Regions from separate parts of the Homo sapiens genome. Here region 1 is linked to region 2. Evidence: promoter capture Hi-C in 16 types of primary human blood cells and fetal thymus (Javierre and others, 2016). All regions are on one chromosome and are shown on one strand. The core of a region is centred on a gene start or on the middle of the fragment in contact, and the rest is flanking DNA. Distances in the headings are between cores, read along the strand shown.

Region 1 (6,190 bases), core at 2,939-5,438, 480 kb after region 2:
ATTCTCCTGCCTCAGCCTCACGAGTAGCTAGGACTACAGATGCGTGCCATCACGCCCGGCTAATTTTTTGTATTTTTTTTAGTAAAGATGGGGTTTCACCATATTGGCCAGGCTGGTTGCGAACTCCTGACCTTGTGATCCACCCATCTCGGCCTCCCCTGCAAAAATGTAAAGCGCTTTAAAGTGCTGCTTTACTATGTGTCCAGTATTTCTACCAGCCTCTTTGCTTTTCCCACATAGTTAAGTTTTTTCAATGACAAGTCACTATAGGTTTAATGCAAAATGAAAGAAAATTCAGATAAAAGCAGGCATTATAAATATGACAATAGTTTTCCCAAGAAGCTTACCGAAATTTCCCTGCCCATTGTCAGAGCGGTGGTAACAAGGATGAAACTGAACACCTTTGCCATGTTCCCCCTTGAAAAAACTGCAAGAACAAAAAGAATTTTATAAATGTATCAACCTTGAATTTTTCATGAGACCAGAGTTCAGACTTCAGTAGCTCCAGGAAGTCGGATGCAGCCGCAGGCCATCCCTAATCTTAGAGTCGCCGAGGAAATTCTCCCAGACTTTCCCAGCCTCTCACCACACAGAATGACACTGAGTGTTAACTAGAATTGAATCTGTTTCATCACAAAAACAGAGGAAGGACTCTGGTTCTTTTCGCTATCCTAATGTGCTGTTTGTGTTATGCTGTGGAAAGGCACAGGAGCATTTTAATCAGTTATTTAATGTTACACATCAAGGAAGTGGCGTAGTCAAAATCTGCACGCTGGTCTCTGCTTATGGAGCTTGTGTCTTTTTCTCCCTATGTTGTGAGGCTGGTCTCAAACTCCTGGGCTTGAGTGATCCTCCCGCCTTGGCCTCCCAAAGTGCTGGGATTACAGGCGTGAGCCACTGCCTAGAGTAAGATTTTTGAAAGCAAAGGTCACACCTTGCTAATTTTGGTATCCCTAGCATTTAATTCTTGTGGTGACCCCAATAACTGTTGTTGCTTCTACGGAATTATTCCTCAGGAGGCAAAATCGTTCTCAGAGGGAAAAATGTAATTTCCTTGCTTTAAACTACAGTCTGTTTATACTGACATACTTTCCTCTTTTACTGGAAAACAATGGGCTAAGTATAGTTTTGAAGGTAAGAGTTAAGAAGGAGTTGGGGACTTTTGGTTTGATTGAACACATGAATTTAATTTTTTCCTTCTCACAAAGCCCACTAGAAAATGAGTGAAGAAAAAGTTTAAAAGATGCGAACTGACAAAGTCAAAGAGAAAGGGAAAGAACAGCTAGTGTGCAATGTCAGCAAGTTGGTAGATGATAAAAAGGCATGTGGGGGGCCTGGTGCGGTGGCTCACGCCTGTAATCCCAGCACTTTGGGAGGTCGAGGTGGGCAGATCACTCGAGGTCAGGAGCTCGAGACCAGCCTGGTCAACATGGCGAAACCCTGTCTCTACTAAAAATACAAAAATTAGCCAGGCGTGGTGGTGGGCGCCTGTACTCCCAGCCACTCGGGAGGCTGAGGCAGGAGAATTGCTTGAACCCGGGAGATGGAGGTTGCAGTGAGCCGAGATCGTGCCAATGCACTCCAGCCTGGGTGACAGAGTGAGTCCCTGTCTAGAAAGAAACGAAATGAGAGGAGAAGAGAGGAGAGGAGAGGAGAGGAGAGGAGAGAAGAGAAGTAGGGGAATTGGCAAAGCAGCAGTAGAGAGGAGCACCATGAGAAGCGAGAGAAGTCACAGTGTAGCACCCTAGGGGATTCTGGATTGGAGGCACTGCTAGCTTGGAAGTGAAGGTAGAGGCAAATGGGCTAACAGTCAGATCCTCATCTAAATCCTGTGCAGCCAGGTGAATGCTGCTTCTCGTACCCTTTCAGAATATGGAAGATTTACTTTCTATTAAGATTGCCCAGAGATGCTCCAGGTGACATGACAGCAGAAGTGCTGGAGGGGAGGAGAGAGACCCTGTTCAAAAAGGGTGAGGCTTTCCCAGGCTTCTTCTCTTGCAGCCAGGCAACCGGCTCTACACTCTTCCTACCACTTTCCAGGCCAAAGAACATAGGATTCCTCGCTGGAGGAACAGCAGAGCTTCACCGAAAAGATCTTCAGAGACTGACATTGGAGGATTCTCCATCAAAGGAGGCTTTTCCTTGACTGATCGCTCTCCAAAGAATCCCACCAGTTGGGAAGCCTCCTTCATGCACCTGGGAGAGGTATAAAAGGTATAGGCACACTATTCTGCTTATTTCTTTCAACGTAAGTCTTCTTTCTGAAGAGAGGCATATTTTACATTTCATTCTCTGTCCACATCAAATGGTCTAAAGAGAAACACCAAATTTCTGTATTACAACACTGGGCAGAAATTCATATGATAGCAATTAGTCATGACTTAACCCTTTCACCCAACACTGTGAACAAAATAACCAAGATGGGCCGGGCGTGTTGGCTCACACCTGTAATCCCAGCACTTCGAGAGGCCGAGGCGGGCGGATCACTGAGGCCAGCATGGCCAACATAGTGAAACCCTGTCTCTATAAAAATACAAAAAATTAGCTAGGTGTGGTGGTGGGTGCCTGTAATCCCAGCAAATTGGGAGGCTGAGGCAGGAGAATTGCTTGAACCTGGGAGGTGGAGGTTGCAGTGAGCCGAGATCACGCCACTGCACTCCAGCCCAGGTGACAGTGCGAGACTCCATCTCAAAAAAAAAAAAAAGTATCTCTAGACCCATTTTTCCATTAAAGTTATCCTTTTAAACATATGATATAATTTGTAGCAACAATTTATAAGAACTCTGGCATTTCACTCTTTATTTTATCTTAGTAAATATTTTTTCTTTAAAATTCAATTGTATATTGAGTATGTACCTATCTTAGGCCCAGTGATAGAAATAGTAGTCTTAGGCCCAGTGATAGAAATAGTAATCTTAGGCCCAGTAATAGAAATAGTAGATGTTTTTATATGTAATGTATTAAATATAATTGATTATATTAAAATATTTGCTTATGTTAAAAATAGAGAAAATTAACTTTCTGATATTTAAAACATTTACCAATGTGAAAAAGAGACACCCTCTGTGTATTTTTATAAAAGATAAAATGGGGTGAGAATAGGATTGCAAAGGAACAGAAGTCGTGACCAAATTAGAAGAAAAGATGATTAGGTTTGCTATCAATTAATATTCGCTAATTAATATAATAAGCTTGGAATTATTTAAGGAACACTTTTCTAGGTCACATTTATTATTGTCATGAAAGGTAAAATCATTTTCTTTAAGATAAAAACATTGACTGCACTAAAGAGTCATCATTTGCAATGCAGTAGTGTCCTAAATCTCTTATTCCCAGATGTCAAGATTATGTCTACAAATTAAGAAAATTTCAAGTTGAAATAAGTATTCTAAACCGAAGACATCTGATGTTAGGAGCAAATACATTTTCATTCCGATCCTGGGGGTAGTTTCATGTTTTCTTTTGTTTTTCTTTTTTTGTCTGAGGGTCCTTGGGAACACTCCTTATTCATTGTGGCTGAATTTTTTCAACATCAGCATTGAATACTACAAAGGATTGTATCAGATATAAATCAATAGTCAATAATTTTATTAAGAAGTAAAAACCATCCATTTAAACTGAATTACAGTGGGAAAATATATTTGTAAAGAAGGCTTAGAAAATAAACAATAACAATAAACTAGAATGAGATTATTTCAAGCATATATTTTCTAACTATTCGTAGGTAAAGTTTTAAAAATTGAATGGATTCTAGTCCTCTAATCCCTGTCACTAGAAAATGACTGACCTACAGCATGCTTTAGTATCTTTTCTTCACAATAAGAGAATAATATTTTAATAATGACACACAATAATTGCTAAACAGGCTTGATGGGACAGTAAGCGTAGTTCCACAAAGATGCCAAGCAGCCTGCGTGGCCTGGGGCATTATATAAAAATGAGCTAGCCATTCAAGTAGAATGTACCTCTGCAAGGCTGCAATATTACTTACATTAAAGGGCCCATCATCAAGGGGACAAGGGCTATTTCCCCAAGTCTAACGTGGATTGGAAAAATAAGGAATACTCATCTGAAACCATATTGTGTTTGTGTTTGGGCATCACTAAACACTCTGCCGAACTTTGGCTGGGCGTGGTGGCTTACGCCTGTAATCTCAGCACTTTGGGAGGACGAAGTGGGAGGATCGCCAGAGGCCAGGAGTTCAAGACCAGCCTGGCCAACATGATAAAACTCCATCGCTACTAAAAATACAAAAATTAGCCAGGTGTGGTGGTGCACACCTGTAATCCCAGCTACTCGGGAGGCTGAAGCATGAGAATCACTTGAACCTGGGAGGCGGAGGTTGCAGTGAGCTGAGATTGTCTCACTGTAGTTAAGCCTGGGTGACAGAGCGACACTCCACCTCAAACAACAACAACACTATCAAAACACTATCAAATTTTAATTGGCCATTTTATTTTATTTCATTAGCCTCACAGTGAAAATAAGAAAACAAGCACAAGGATGCTTATGATTTCTCCAGGACCATTCAGCCTCTGGGGATATCCCCTGGGAATATCTCCCAAATCTCCTGAACCTCTTTCTTTATTGCCTGGTTAATCCTTTCTTACTGTATTATGTTGAACTATAAGAAATGGCAGATGTTTGAACATTTCTGACTTAGAAAAATGGCAATTTCATTGTTTCAAATTAATGCATATTGTTTAGATAGGAAGAACACACTTGAAAATCATTATAACCATTTATACTACAATGAATACCAAAAAAATAGGTTCAAAATATACTGTTTGCAGCTTACTTGATCAGAGAGAGAACAAATTGGCAAGAACCTGTTTTTATATCAATGCTGCCTCCCATGTTAATACATTAATGTGTGCCATTTAAAATATGTTTACAAAATTGCTAATACATCATCAACACATGAAATCTCACGATGTCTTTAGAAGACACATTATGTTTACTTTTTACTAAAGGAAGCTCAAATAGTGAAGCAAAGTAACTTTCCTAAGGAAAGACTCTACGTTCAAAATTTATACAACATCCAATCATTTCTCACCACCTCTATTGCTAATGTCTGGCCCAAGCTACCAATGGAAGATTCCAAACAATTTTTTAGAATTACAATGAGACAACATTCTATACTGAGCCTTTCCTGGGCAAACCGGGATATTTGGTCATTCACCGACAAAGCTTTACATAATCTGTGAGCATCCACCTCCTCAACACATCTCTTTTCCCATCATTTTTGCCTGTTCTGGCTACATTGGCCTCTTTGGCATTTTTGGAAAACCCTGAAATACACAGACTTCTCAGGGCGATTGCACTTGCTGTTCTCTCTACCTGGAATGCTCTTCTGAAAATCTCTGTGGTTTGCTCCATGACATCCTTCAGGTCTTTGCTCAGGTATTCCCTTCCCAGAGATACCTTCCCTGACTACCACATATAAAATAACAGCTGTCCCCTACTGTCTTAGTCCATTCTCATTTTATAAATTTACCCAGTAAAGATCTGCCTGAGACTGGGTAATTTATAAAGGAAAAAGGTTTAATTGACTCACAGTTTGCCATGACTGGGGAGGCCCCAGGAAACTTACAGTCGTGGTGGAAGGGGAAGCAAACATGTCCTTCTTCACATGATGGCAGGAAGGGGAAGAGCCAAGCAAAAGCCCCTTATAAAACCATCAGATCTCAGGAGAACTCACTATCACGAAAACAGCAGCATGGGGGTAGCTGCCCCCATGATTCAATTACCTTCCACTGGGTCCATCCCATAACATGTGGGATTACGAGAACTACAATTCAAGATGAGATTTGGGTGGAGACACACGCAAACAACATCACCCACACACTTCATATCTCTATCACAATGGATTCAGTTTCTCCTTAGCACTTATCACCAAATATAATGAAATATTATAATATATGTGTTTATTGTCTACCTACTCCAACCGCCCTGTACAATGTAAGCACGAAGAGGTGAGTGGCTACATCTATTATGTATACTGCCCTAATGCTAGGTGGATAGTTAGGTACTGTACTAGTTTCTTGAGGCCACCATAACAAATTACCATAAACTGAGTGGCCTAAAACAACAGGAGTTTATTATCTCACAGTTCTGGAGGATACAAGTCCAAAATCAAGAAGAACAGGGCCATACTTCCTTCAAAGGCTCTAAGAGAAAATCCTTTCTG
Region 2 (6,278 bases), core at 1,037-3,536:
AGCTCTGTAAGTAATGTTGTTCTCTTTTTCATTTAGACTGTGAAAATTAATTTTGCCCTTAAAAATGTAAAACAAAAGGAGGATGTTATTTAACCTCAAGGAATCATTTATCTTTGACCATTGTTATTGTTTTCAGTTTCTTTAGGGTTGTAATTATTTATTACAATATATATTTATACAAGTACATGACCACTGTTGAAAATGCTCCTAGTCCTCCTTAAGTCCTTCCATGTTAAGACGGCTCTTCTAAGAAGGCTTCCCTTGACCTTGAGGGCAGAGCTGATCCTCTCTTCAGTCTCCCTCTCTACCCACTGCACCTTGCACATGTCTCTATCATACACTGACATATTTACAACTGCCTCCCCTTAGAGATTGTGAGTTCCTGGACGCTTCCAGCACTTAACACAGAGCCTGGCACATGAAAGGTTCTAAATGCTTGTAGAATAAAATAAATGAATAAATGAATCCGATCCATCCAACCTCTGTAATTTCTTATTTTTTTCACCAGCTTTATCCCAAATGTTAATGACTCACCCAATTCAGTAACACTTCAGACAATTTTCCATTTTCCCCCAATTTGTTTCCATTTCCAGATAAATAAGGATTTCTGACTTCAAGTACTGCACTGCTTAGAGGGTATCCATAAACACCAATTTTAAGAGTAAGAACACTGCTTGCAACTCAGGTTCACACGTGACTTTGTACCAGGTGGCTTTGTATATAGAACAGAAAAGGCCTTGACTCCCCCAAATTCATATTCTCTAACAAAGTGGCATCCACTGCCATGTCACTGTATCATTCTTGCTATCAATATCCACAACAGCTATCACTTTTACAAACGGCTCCCTTCATCATGGAAGGAGGAAGAATGCCCTTGGCAAGGGCAGAGTCCATGAGTTAAATTCACCCTTCTGGAATAAATTATTTAGTACCACTTAAACTCTGAAAGCTTTGAGCCACCTATTCTGTGGTTTGTAGCATTGTCTTCTAAGTTTACAATTTCATGATTGTGAAGCGACAACTTAATTCCCTAGTGCAAAATCAATACAATTTAAATTTACTGTCGGAACTGACATTCTCCAGCAAACTAAAAGATTTCTTCTTCCAATGACATGAGATCATTTTAATCTGCTTTTACAAAAAGGTACTCAGGAACTATTCCAAAATTTAGGAATCAATTCTTGCTGGCCATAAAGCAATTGCCCCCACCCCTCTTAAATGTGTGGGATCCCTGGAACCACCTGAGCTATGGCCACTCTGACCTAGCTTTGACCTGTCAGGGGCCTACATTTTGAATGGAAGTTCATCCTGCAAAAACGCAAGGAGCTGTGGTGGTAGTAACAACAGACAGCCAATAGGGTTTTTAAGCATATTCTTTCACTCGTTTAGGGTTTTTATCATGCAGTAACGTCGATCATCATTTTCATTCTAAATTAGATTATCAGTACAACTGAGGAGGAAGATTTGGTACAGCGATCAACGTTTCCAATGTTAATTTACTGGAGTGATCAGGGACCATTTGCTTTTGTTAATTAGCAAAAGCTGGTGTTGTTAAAACACAACAGTGCGTGACGAATCCGTAAGCTGCATCCTTTTCTCTAACGAACAAAACGGACTGGAAAAGGCAAGAACACACCATCATTCAACCTACAATGAATATTGATTATCCGTTCTGTGTAAGGCCCCTTGCAGCTGCTACGCTCAGGATGAGGATGCTGACTGGGAAGGCCGAGCCGGGTGGGCCTGACACCCTAGATTTAACAAGCTTCCAAGCGCAGGAGTCCCTCTGCATTTAGCTCGTTTTCCTTGCACCTGTCACCGAAAGGCTTATTTCCCTTTCAACTACTCTGAGCGGCCAACAGCTAAAAGAGAAAGCCTCGTGCCAGGAGAAAGAAGGGTTGATCTACACCCAGTTACTAGCAGACAACTGAGGTTCCCTCCCGTTCACCCTTGTGTCCACTGCGCTCCCCCAAAACCAAGAGGTCAGACCCAGCAGCAGCTAAGGCTAGGCCTGGGAGGCAGCAAGAGAACGACCGGGCTCGCAGGCACCCCGGGATGCTCAGGCAATGCCTGCTCCTCCCTCGCCCGCGGTCCAGGCTCCGCCGGTGCCCCTCAAAGCAGTCGGCCTCCCGCGCGCTCAGCATCCCTCCTCCTCCTCCCCCATCTCCTCCCGTCCCTCCTCCGCCCGCGCTGGTGTCACCAACCTTGGGCGTACGGATGTGCTCCATGGCTGGCCCACGTCTGCAGGGTCCCGGGCGGGCGCGGCCTCACGCACCTGCGCGCCTCTGCGGCGCGATGGGAGGGGCGCGGGGAGGGGGCTTCGCGCCCGGGAGTGGGCGGGACGCGGTCTTGGCTCCGCCCCCAGGTGTTCCGCGCGCGGCGTGCGGACCCGGGGCTCCCGCGCGGCCCTAGAGAGCCCACCTCCGCGCCTGCGCCCACCTGCGCCGCCGCCGCGACGCGCCTCTGCCTGGGGTTGCCGGGGCGAGGGCTGCTCGCTCTCTCTTAACAGGGGCAGCCGGCGGAGCACTATACGGCCACTGTTCTCCGAGACACAAAGAGGGCCTTGTTTTGGGTGTGGCCTCCTGGAAGAGAGATGGGGAGTACAGGCTGCTCCACACCGTCCCTGGGCTTCCTTCTAGGGCGTCCTGGGATAGCTAGGATTTCAGGGTGGGGCAGAAAAGAAGGCTGCCACAGACACTCTAGACCCAGGACGGTCTTGTAGGCTCAATGTGTGTGTTTCATCCCAGGCGCGGCCGGCATAGCGCTCGGGGTGCGGGTGGAAATAATAGCAGCAGTGTTAGCGCCTTGGTAAGCGCGCTCCTAAGTCAGGCATCTCACATCCACCTGCGACTTCACTGTTGCAGGCGACACTTTTCCCCTGGCACAGTGTTGGGTGCTCATTTGCCCTCTTTATTTAGCTCCAACTGAACTGAGAGATAGAGATACAAAGCATCCATTATGCGGTACCATTTCCCTATTGATGGTATTAACAGTAGTTGGTGCCATTGTTAGCGTTAGGCCTCTTGGGAAAAGCCAAAGAGAGGAAGAACGCCCTCCATTTTTTTTTTCTTGCAGCCCTAAGAGTACAATGCTCCACCATAAGTGAAATTTTATAGAATTCTACATAGTTCTGTTCAATTTTTTCCTCGCTCTTACTCATCTTTCAGGCTGGATTGTGATTTTTTTTTTTTTTCCGTAGAGACTCTGCTTACCGTTTTTTTATCTAATACCTGGACACATTGCAGCCTTCCAGCAAATAATTAATACGGTGTTGAATTTATTTTTAAAATTCCAGATCCCTCTTTCACAGGTCTTCTACCATTTCATCCTCCTACTGCTTTGGGAGGCAATTAGAACAAGTTTACCATTAGTTTACATTATTAGAAGAACTACTCTGGAAAGCCACAGCTGATTCTTTTGGAAGTGAAAAGAACACTTTCGTTGTTGTTGTCACATAAAGCCACTGAACTTTAACGCTGAATTGAGCCTAGCCTATACTATGTTGAAGTGGAAAGGGAATTTGAGAGTCAAAATAATGCACTGTCTCTACCTTTGTGTTTGTGATTTTTTTAAAGAGGGAGTTGGTAATGCCTTTAAAGATCTCTAGGGACACCTAACCATAAGCAAGACCTAAACTACTTGATTGCAAGTTACCAAACGTCTTCTAGAGAATTCTTCTTATGCAACTTTTATCACATAGATAATTCAGTTGCAAATACTTTTGCTAACAGAATTTTAAAATACAACCTTGATTTTAACTGGGCATTTTCCCAAAATCCTGTGATATTCAATGGCCTGAGGAGATTTGAATTCTTATCAAAAACACTTGCAAGACTTTTTCCAGAATACTTATATTTCTCTTGAGGCAAGGCAAACTTCTGATTTGGCAGTGAGACCAAACCCTGTTTCCTTAGGGATGGTATTGCTAATTATTACAAACTCAATACGATCCTATTCAGCGTAATTAAACCCAAATGGACCATATTATAAGTGGAGGAGGGAACACATCTCTGAATAAACTCAGCCTCATCTGGAGTCACTCAGTATGATAGGGTCAGAGCTGCATTTGGGGTTCTGCCTGGCAAAAAGTAAAAGCGGCCTCTCTTCAGGATTTTTATGAACTCAATGATGCAATGTATCAATGTCTCTGTTGGCCTTGCCCTATAACAAAGATGTGGAGGAAAAGCACTCAGTGGATTGCAGTCAGCTCTGCCCTTTTTCTAGCAGCCAAAAGGGAAATTCTAGGGCAGCATGAAAAGAGTGTTTACTCTGTGAACAGTCAAGGCTTTAAAATAGCCTCCTCCCAAAACTGTGAAACTGCTGGAATAAAACATAGGGGAAACTCTTCAAGACATTGGTCTTGGCGAGGATTTTTGGGATAAGAACTCAAAAGCATAGGCAGCAAAGGCAGAAAGAGACAAATGGGATTACATTAAATTTAAAAGCTTCTATACAATAAAGGAAACGACAGAGTAAAGAGACAGCCTACACAAGGGGAGAAAATATTTGCAAACTACGCATTTGCCAAGGGGTTAATATCCAGAATATAAAAGGAATTCAAACAACTCAACAGCAGAAAAACCAAATAGTCTGATTTAAAAATGGGCAAAAAAAACTGAACAGAGATTTCTCAATATGAGACCTACAAATGACTAACAGGTCTATGAAAAAATACTCAGTATCACTAATGATTAGGAAAATGCAAATCAAAACCACAGTGAGCTATCACCTCACCCCAATTAGACTGACTATGATCAAAAAGACTAACAATAACTAATGCTGGCAAGGAGGCAAAGAAATGGGAACCCTTATGCACTGTTGGCAGGACTGTAAATTAGTACAGCCATTATAGAAAACAGTATAGAGCTTCCTCAAAAAATGAAAAATAGAGCTACCGTACGATCCAGCAATCTCACCAGTGGGTATTTATCCAAAGGAAATGAAATCACTATGTTGAAGAAATATCTGCACTCCCATGTTTATTGCAGCACTATTCACAATGGCCAAATATGAAATCAACCTAACTGTCCATCAATGGATGAATAGATAAAGAACATTTTGTAGAGATACATAGTGTAATACTATCCAGCCACAAAGAATGAAACCCTGTCATTTGTGACAATATGGATGAACCTTGAGGACATTATAAGTGAAATAAGCAAGGCACAGAAAGACCCATACCGTGTGATCCCACTCATTTGTGGAATCTTAAAAAGCTGATCTCATGGGCGTCCAGAGTAAAATACTGGCTACCAGAGGCTAGGGAAAATCGGGGAGAGGTGGGTATGTGAAGAGATGGGTCAGTGAGTACAAAATTACAGTTAGATGGAAAGAATAAGTTCTGGTGTTTTATTCCATAGTATGGTGACTATAGTTAACAATATTTTATTGTATATCTGAAAATAACTAGAAAAGAGGACTTTGAATGTTCTCACCACAAAGAAATGATCAATGTTTGAGGTGATGGATATGCTAATTACCCTGATTAGCTCATTACACAGTGTATATGTGTATCAAAATATCACACTGTATCCCATAAATATGTGCAATTATATGTTGATTACATATAAGAATAAAACCTTTTATAATAAAATATTTTAACATTTAAAAATAATTAAAACAGCAAAGTAGTCTCCTGTATTTTGTTCTGCCTTCAGGAAGGCATACAACTCAAGTTCAAGACTGTGTCTTCAGAACACTTATTTCATTTCCTTTTTTTTTTTTTTTTTTTTTTTTTTTTTTTTGAGATGAATCTCACTGTTGCCCAGGCTAGAGTGCAGGGGCACAATGTCATCTTACTGCAAACTCTGCCTCTCAGGTTCAAGCAATTCTGTGCCTCAGCTTCCCGAGTAGCTGGATTACAGGCATCTGCCACCATGCCTAGCTAATCTTTGTATTTTTTAGTAGAGACAGGTTTACACCATGTTGGCCAGGCTGGTCTCGAACTGCTGACCTCAAGTGATCCACCCACCTCGGCCTCTCAAAGTGCTGGGATTGCAGGCGTGAGTCACCACATGCACCCAGGACACTTATTTTCTTATTCCCTTCCCACTTCTATCCTTTCAACCATCACTTGGATGCAGATAATTCCTGTATCAGTATTTCCAGTCCTGGATTCTCTTCCTACAAGCCATATTATATTTCTGTCTACCTGCTGAGTACCTCTACTTGGATGTCCCATCAATAACCCTAATGTCACAAACCAGATAAAGTGAAAAACATGGGTTCTGAAGGCAGAAAGACCTATATTCAAATCACGACTCTGGCACGTGTTAGCT

What was found. Contacts are between HindIII fragments. The CHiCAGO score rates a contact against its expected background, and 5 or more counts as called.
Region 1: a contact is called between a fragment that was not itself captured here and the fragment with the promoter of MTMR7 in region 2, in 1 of 17 cell types (endothelial precursors). The highest score is 5.0, in endothelial precursors.

Annotation. Positions count from the first base shown.
Region 1 is chr8:17,885,145-17,891,334 of GRCh38, forward strand. It overlaps FGL1 (fibrinogen like 1), which reads right to left. Exons shown (of 8, transcript NM_004467.4): 2 at 348-427. The coding sequence starts at 410. Among named protein-coding and RNA genes, the nearest start is that of FGL1, 7.3 kb to the right of the region's middle. The HindIII fragment of the contact is 1,999 bases long and covers 3,190-5,188 here.
Region 2 is chr8:17,411,065-17,417,342 of GRCh38, forward strand. It overlaps MTMR7 (myotubularin related protein 7), which reads right to left and starts at 2,287. Exons shown (of 14, transcript NM_004686.5): 1 at 2,205-2,287. The coding sequence starts at 2,228. The HindIII fragment of the contact is 2,680 bases long and covers 1,764-4,443 here.